Linked DNA regions of Homo sapiens: region 2 is linked to region 1. Evidence: promoter capture Hi-C in 16 types of primary human blood cells and fetal thymus (Javierre and others, 2016). All regions are on one chromosome and are shown on one strand. The core of a region is centred on a gene start or on the middle of the fragment in contact, and the rest is flanking DNA. Distances in the headings are between cores, read along the strand shown. Region 1 holds the start of GOLGA7B (golgin A7 family member B). Region 2 holds the start of SLF2 (SMC5/6 complex localization factor 2).

What was found. The method cuts DNA at HindIII sites, captures the fragments that hold promoters and counts their contacts. A CHiCAGO score of 5 or more calls a contact.
Region 2: a contact is called between the fragment with the promoter of SLF2 here and the fragment with the promoter of GOLGA7B in region 1, in 1 of 17 cell types (M0 macrophages). The highest score is 5.2, in M0 macrophages.

Annotation. Positions count from the first base shown.
Region 1 is chr10:97,848,019-97,851,539 of GRCh38, forward strand. It overlaps GOLGA7B (golgin A7 family member B), which reads left to right and starts at 1,825. Exons shown (of 5, transcript NM_001010917.3): 1 at 1,825-2,297. The coding sequence starts at 2,286. GOLGA7B-DT (GOLGA7B divergent transcript) reads right to left here and starts at 1,780. Exons shown (of 3, transcript NR_108035.1): 1 at 1,648-1,780. The HindIII fragment of the contact is 7,033 bases long and covers 1-2,696 here.
Region 2 is chr10:100,911,040-100,914,560 of GRCh38, forward strand. It overlaps SLF2 (SMC5/6 complex localization factor 2), which reads left to right and starts at 1,924. Exons shown (of 20, transcript NM_018121.4): 1 at 1,924-2,211. The coding sequence starts at 2,072. RefSeq lists a silencer at 1,444-1,713 and enhancers at 1,934-2,003, 2,024-2,073. The HindIII fragment of the contact is 2,989 bases long and covers 815-3,521 here.

The DNA.
Region 1 (3,521 bases), core at 575-3,074:
GTGAGCCACCGCGCCCGGCCACGATATCTGTCACCTTCTGATAATCTAGGCAAATATAGCTCTGTTTTCATATCTATCAATAAAGCAAATGTGGCAAAAAGCAATTGTTGGAGCTAGGTAGATGGCATAGTTTATTGTACTATTCTTTCAACATTTTGGTATGTTTAAAAATGTCAAAATAAAAGGTTGGAGAAAAAACAAAAGGTCCTAGAAACAGTCTAGTGAAATCCAACACTCACATTTTACAGAAAGAGAACCATAAGCTCAGAAAACAAGACAGTTGCTCGAGGTTATACAGCTGGAAAAGCCTGGGCCAGGTCTCTTGGCCGCCAGGTTCTCCCTGTGTGTGGGCTTCAGACTCTCAGGCAGCAGTGAGCTGCAGAGGAGCACACCCCACCACCCCTCAAAGAGACCAAGGGGTATTATGGGTATGTAAAAAGGCACTTGTGTTGGTGTTTCCTTTTTTTTATGTCTATTTTATTTATTTATTTATTTATTTATTTTTTGAGACAGAGTTTCGCTCTTGTCGCCCAGGCTGGAGTGCAATGGTGTGATCTCAGTTCACTGTAACCTTTGCCTCCCGGGTTCAAGCAATTCTCCTGCTTCAGCCTCCTGAGTACCTGGGACTACAGGCGGGTGCCACCATGCCTGGCTAATTTTTTTTTGTATTTTTGGTGGAGATGGGGTTTCAGCATGTTGGCCAGGCTGGTCTTGAACTTCTGCCCTCAGGTGATCCACCCGTCTCGGCCTCCCAAAGTGCTGGGATTACAGGTATGAGCCACTGCTTCCGGCCTTATTTTTATTTTTTTAAGAGACAGGCTCTTGCTCTATTGCCCAGGCTGGAGTACAGTGGCACAATCATGGCTAGCTGCAGCCTTGAACTCTTGGATTCAAGTGATTCTCCTGCCTTAGCCTTCTGAGTAGCTGGGACCACAGGCACACATCACAACGCCCGGCTAATGTTTTCATTTTTTGTGCAGACAGGGTCTTGCCCAGGCTGGTCTTGAACTCCTGGGCTCAAGCAATCCTCCCACCTCAGCCTCCCAAAGTGTTGGGATTACAGGTGTGAGCCACTGCACCTGGTCTCCTTTTTATTAAACAAATAGATCATTTAGTTGGAATTTATGATGTCAAAAGTGCGAAGGTGGCACCAGAGCCAGACCTGCCATCCTTGGAGAGTGAGCATACCGGTTTGGCACCATCTGCTTGTGGTTTTTGAGTGGTGGTGGTAGTGGTGGTGCGTGTATGTAAACTCGGGTTGCAGAGGAGAGAGGGAAGAGTAAAGGGTGGGGACCAGGTCCAGGAAGAGCAGCAAGGAGAGACTGGCTTCAATTCTGGAGCTGCCTGAAAGAAGGGACCCCAGGCTATGGCTGAGAACGAAATGTGGGCACGTATTTAAAGAAAGGAAATGATTCTCTGCGGTCGGCAGGATCTTTGTCTAGCTAGTGGGGTTCCAGGAAGTGCAAAGGAGAGGGGAAAAGAGGGGCCGTCCGTGCAAGCCTGACTGTGTGTATATGGGGGGGGGGCACACAGAGAGGAAAAGGGAGAGAAAGAAAAGAAATTATTCTAAAGAGGAAGCTGGGGGCGGGGCGAGGGAGGGGTAGAGCCGGGGCACTGGGGGTGGCTGGAAAGGTAGAGAGGCCTCACCTGCGGGCCTGCGAGCGGCTCGGGAGCGGTCAGCCTTGCAGGCTGAAGCGTCTTGCCCCGGAAAAATTCCTGCCCCACTGTCCTTCAGGCTGGATGTCCCGGGGGCCACGGAAGCGAGCGCAGAGCTCCGGGGCTCTCACGAGGGGGAGGGCAGGAAGGGGAGGCGGGGCCTCGCGCGGGGCGGTAGCCGAGCCTGTGGCCCGGGCGGGGCTCCTCTCCGGCGGCGCCGGAGTCTGGGGGCCGCGGCTTCCCCCTCCCGGCCAGCGGCGGCTCCTGGCCCCTCCTCCCCCGGCCGCCCCCATCCCCGCCGCCGCCGCCGCCAAAGCTAAACCCGGCCGTTGCCTGCAGGAGCCGCGGCAGCGGGCGATCGGGCCGTGAGGAGCCTCGGGCGCGGCCTCGCCTCCCGGGCCCGGCGCCTGCCTCAGCACAGCGGACAGCGCCGCGCCCCTTGCCTGGACCCAGCCGCCCGCCCGCCCCCGGCCCACCTGAGCCCGGGCCCGCGGCGCCCGCATCAGCACTGCGGACAGCGCCCCGGGCCCCAGCTCGCCGCCACCGCCGCCGCCCACCTGCTCCCGGGGTCAGCACCGCGGAGACCCCCCTCGCCCGGCCCCGCGACAGCCTCCGAGCGCCCCCGGATCATGGCCACCGAGGTAGGGGCGAGCGCCCCACCCGCAGGCAGTGCCCGATTGCCGCGGGACCAAATGCCCTAGGGGTGGGCTGGGCAGGAGTGGGAGGCGGGAGTTGGGGGTGGGATGGGGTGATTCCCCAGGTCAGGTCTGGAGGGAGGAGGTAGGGGCTTAGTGAGGGCTCATCTCCCCCTTGCGTGTCAATCTTCCCCTCGCCCCACCTGAGCCCCCAAGCTGTCCGCGACACTTGTTGGCATTAGCGCCAGGGTTGCTTCAGGGCCCCAGGCTGGGGTTTCCCCTTCCCTGGACTTCACAAGTCCTGAAACCGCTTTCCTAGAGGGTTGGAGACGCGTGTGTGTGCGTGTGTGAGGGGAGGGAAGGCGGCTGTCCGCTGTTGCTATGCAGTCAGCTTCTGAACCCAAAAGCTTGGCTAAGGGATGACAGACTTACCTCTACATCCGCATTTCCTTTGCGGGAGGGAGGGGACAAAGACATCCTCAGGCTGAGAACCCAAATGGTTGGTCTCCACTTTTGCATATCACCCTTCTTGCTTTTTTACCCCATTCGAGTTTTTTTTTTTTTTTTGTCCCAGGGTGTCCAGATTTCCCCTCCATCTGATGGGAGTTTCTGCCTTCTTCAAGGTGCACTGATAGGTGTGTCACCTTCAAGCACTTGAAGGCTGAACCACGGGGCCTGTTAGCTAAGGGCAGAATCTTGGTATAATGCTTGAGGTCGAGGATTCCCCCCTCTACCCCTAGGGATTGCCCTTTCCCCCCTCATTTCAGGAGGGAGATTGGGCTCTTTATGTTCCCACTTTATACATGATAAAGGTGATGTGTGGAAAACGAAAGGACTAATTTGCTACTCCACACAGCATGTCAGCAGCAGAGCGGAAAGTTTTTGCCTTTGAATTTTTGGAGCGAAACTCAGGACATCAGGGTCTCCCCAGTTCTGATGTTGACTTCCTTTGTGGTGTCTCCCCATTTCCAATCCAGCTGGCATACACTGGGGGAGAGCAGAGGCCTGTGAATGATTCAATGCAGTGCTTCTGGGCATCCTGGTGAGCAGTGTGACATTAATACCAAGTGTGGCTGTTGTTATTCCACTCAAGTTTCCACCACAGAACAAGGTGCTGTTGCTTGGCATTGCTTGGCATTCTGACAAGGCACAAGGTTAGCTAGGCGGAGAGTTGCCCCTCAGGACTTGGTGTGAGGGCAAGCCCTGGGCAGACCCTGGGAGCTTGGTTTC
Region 2 (3,521 bases), core at 674-3,173, 3.1 Mb after region 1:
TTGGAGGCTGGATGATTCAAGTACTATAATCCAAGAAAAGCAACTAAATGATCATGCAGAACGTGTTTTTATGCATTACTCTTTATCGATTAGGCATGCAAGGAAATGAATCGGATTAAATGTTTCGTAGATGTGCTCTGTTATAGTACAGAAACTTCCTAGTGTAAAAACATCCAACAGAAAGCACTAAGAGATAGGAAATAATACATGTAAAATGCAAATGTGTAAGTCATTCAACACATTTTGAGTATCATGTTTTTTTATGTAAAAAACAATGTTACGTATAGTAAATTCTCCGCTATTAGGAGCAGAAAAGTACCCTCTATTTTGGCACTTCCCTTCTTCCGCCACCATTAGCTAGTATACAGCTGTACATATGTGCTTTTGGGGTGAATGTGAAACCTGTATATTCACTGTTTACCTTCGACCCTCTACTTTGCCAGCTTTTTGTCCACTTTATTCCTTATTAATTCTTCCTCCCGGGGACTAAAGGGGAAGGGAAAAGGAGGTGAACTTGGAGTCAGTCAGGCATGCTTAGTGACCAGAACAGTTCAATTTCGTTTTTTCTAAATTTTAATTAATTAATTTATTTTTGAGACAGGGTCTTGCTATGTTGCCCAGGCTAGTCTCCAACTCCCGGGCTCAAGCTATCCACCTGCCTTGGCCTCCCAAACTGCTGGGATTATAGATGTGAGCAACTGTATCAGGCCAATAGTTCAATTTCTATACAATAAACTTGAAAGACCCGTCCAAATTATTTTATATCATTTAAGATTTTTTTCCATCCAACTGATTAAATAACTCTGTCAATTAAAGCTTGGACATCTTGAAATTGATATTTTGGTTGTTAACAGTTATTGCAACAGTATTTGACCTGTCTCTGGAAGATTTTGTAAAGAAGTAAAATTCGCTGTAGGAATCTATCTGGGGAAGAAAGGGAACTATAATTTGCTCTGTACCTGTTACATGAGAGAATCTGAACTGTGCAGTGTACACTGTTTTATCCTTTTATGGTTTACAATTACCCAGAAAAGTGAGTAAAATGCCCGTTTTACAGATGTGGAGGCTGAGGTTCAGAGATACTGACCAGTCTCTCGGTTTATAAGGAAAACCATGGCTAACAGCCTCCAGAGCACAAGCCCTTTACAAAGGAGGGTTGGAGATTGCAGGCAGCTTTTACTTATCTATGCTGCCCACGCTTAACATGGAAAACTGAAAGCTGACCTTGTGTTCCTTTAAAAAATCTCCAAGGAAGTCGGCTGCAGAGACTTCATGGTAACTCATGAGAAACAAAATGCTTTTGTGGATTAACAACTGTCTTTATTCCAATGGAGTTTTTTGGGGGTTTTTTCTTCTTCTTAAAGACAAAAAAATAATCTACCGCTGACACTCAACAAGAACCGTCGTAGAATGGACAAGTCTTCGGATCGCGCTGTGCAGATCCCTCAGCAAATTGTGACAGTATTATGGCACTTTGGCCTAAGCTGTTAAAGAGACGATGTAATGAACAGCTGCGGATTTCTGAGGCACAATTGTGTGACACAGGAAGCCCAAGTGTTGGCCATCCTCAACGAAGGCAGCTGCCGGGCTCCGGTTTGCTTCAGCAAACCCTCACCCCTCGCCTTCAACCAGGCGGGTGTCGTCAGCTGTCCGCCAGCTGCTGCCCGCGCCTTTCCGCCCCCGCGCGCCGGCCAAGGCCGAGGCGGCCGGGACCAGAGGCGCGCGCCCTCAGTGCATGTGACGGGGTGGGAGGGGGAGGTTTCTTCCTCCCCCGTCCCCAAGCCCCGCCTTCTCCAGAGAGGCTGCGGCTTCCTATTGCGCCACCACCGAAATGACCACCGTGCCAGCCAATCAAGACGTGATTCATGAAGTAAGACCCGCCCCTTACTGGTCCCCAGGTTCCTTCCCGCTCACGCCGGAGTCACTTCCGAAGAGAGAACCGCCATGAAGAGAGAAGGGGGTGCCGCCCACCTCTGCTCCGACAGCCTCCCGGAGTCCCAGCAGCAAGACGGCAACCACGCACCCAACTTCTCCAGCCACGGCTCATGCCGCCGTCGCCAGCGGCGCCGACATGACAAGGCGCTGCATGCCCGCTAGGCCAGGTTTCCCCTCATCCCCAGCCCCGGGGTCGTCGCCCCCGCGCTGCCATCTGAGACCCGGTAGTACCGCCCATGCTGCAGCGGGAAAGAGAACAGAGAGTCCTGGGGACAGGTACCGTGCAGAGGGCTTGAGAAGGGGCCGGGTCGCGGGGGCAAGGGTATGAGGGGAGGGCTGCAGACCGCCGCTCTTCCAGTTCCCGCCATCCTCCGCGAGCTCAGGCGTTGGCATTTCGGGGCCTGGCAAATCCCCGCCCCGCCTCCGCGCAGGGGCTACTGGGAGTTGGAGTTTGCTTCTCTGTAGTTGGGCAGCTGCTCTTGGTCTAGTGACCACCAGCCTGGACAGCTACGGAGAACCCGCCTTAGGTAGAAAGAAAGTGATTTTTTTCCTTTGCAAGAGTTTGACCCGGGACCCTAACTGCTTAATGCATATTTAGATCGTTTTCTGTACGTTGTCAGTTCTACTGATCCTAGTGGTTTAGTAATATAAACCTTTTCTATGTTGTGGGTGAAATTATGTAACCTGTGATGAGGGAATCCCTTCCACGAATTACTTTGTAGTCCAGCGTGCACGCTAGTTCATACTTAAAAGAACTTGCAGATTTGGAATGTGACGTGTTTTCTCTTTCAGTAACTTCACGCCTCTCCAAGAGGCTAATTTTTTTGTAAAGATTTTGTGGGAGCTATGTAATGAGATGGGGAGTTTCATCTAATGACATCCTCTGACAATAAAACATGTTTAAATTCCCTACGAACTTGGTACTGTCTTTTATTTTAAGTTAAATTGTATTAAGTTTTAACAATATTCATGTTACTAATACTGTGGTACAGGCCCACAATCCCTTATCTTAACTCTGAAAGCCAGAAAGCTATGAAAACCAAAACGTTTTCAGTAAGTTTGGCACCACATCTTACTGGGCAGCCAGATCTGACTAAAACTAATGTAAGGCTGTTTGTGGTCTTTATCCCATTAAGTGTGAATATTCATGTTTTGCTGGAGAAATGTCAGTGGATTTGATTACAGGTTGCAGCACCAGACCCCACTGGGGACTTTCCATAATACATCCAAGTTATCCCCTTCCTAAAATCTGATAAATTCAGAATTCTAAAACACATTTGGCCCCAGAAGGTTCAGATAAGGGTTTGTGAAACTGTTATAATTGTGTGTGTGTGTGTGTTTTTTTTTAAGCCAGTTGTTAAATAAGCAGTGGACATTTTGTGTGCATATGAACTTAGAGAACCTACCTCTTGAAAGTTACATTCATGGTTATTTTACAGGTTTCTTGTATGTTTTACCCAAAATCATTTTTTCTCTTTCTGGTGTATTAATCAAAAAGGAGTCTGAGGTCCAATATTTTAGGGAAGAGATACAGTGTTACATTTAGTAAAATGCATTTAGAATTATCTTGTGTGCAACAAATGAGC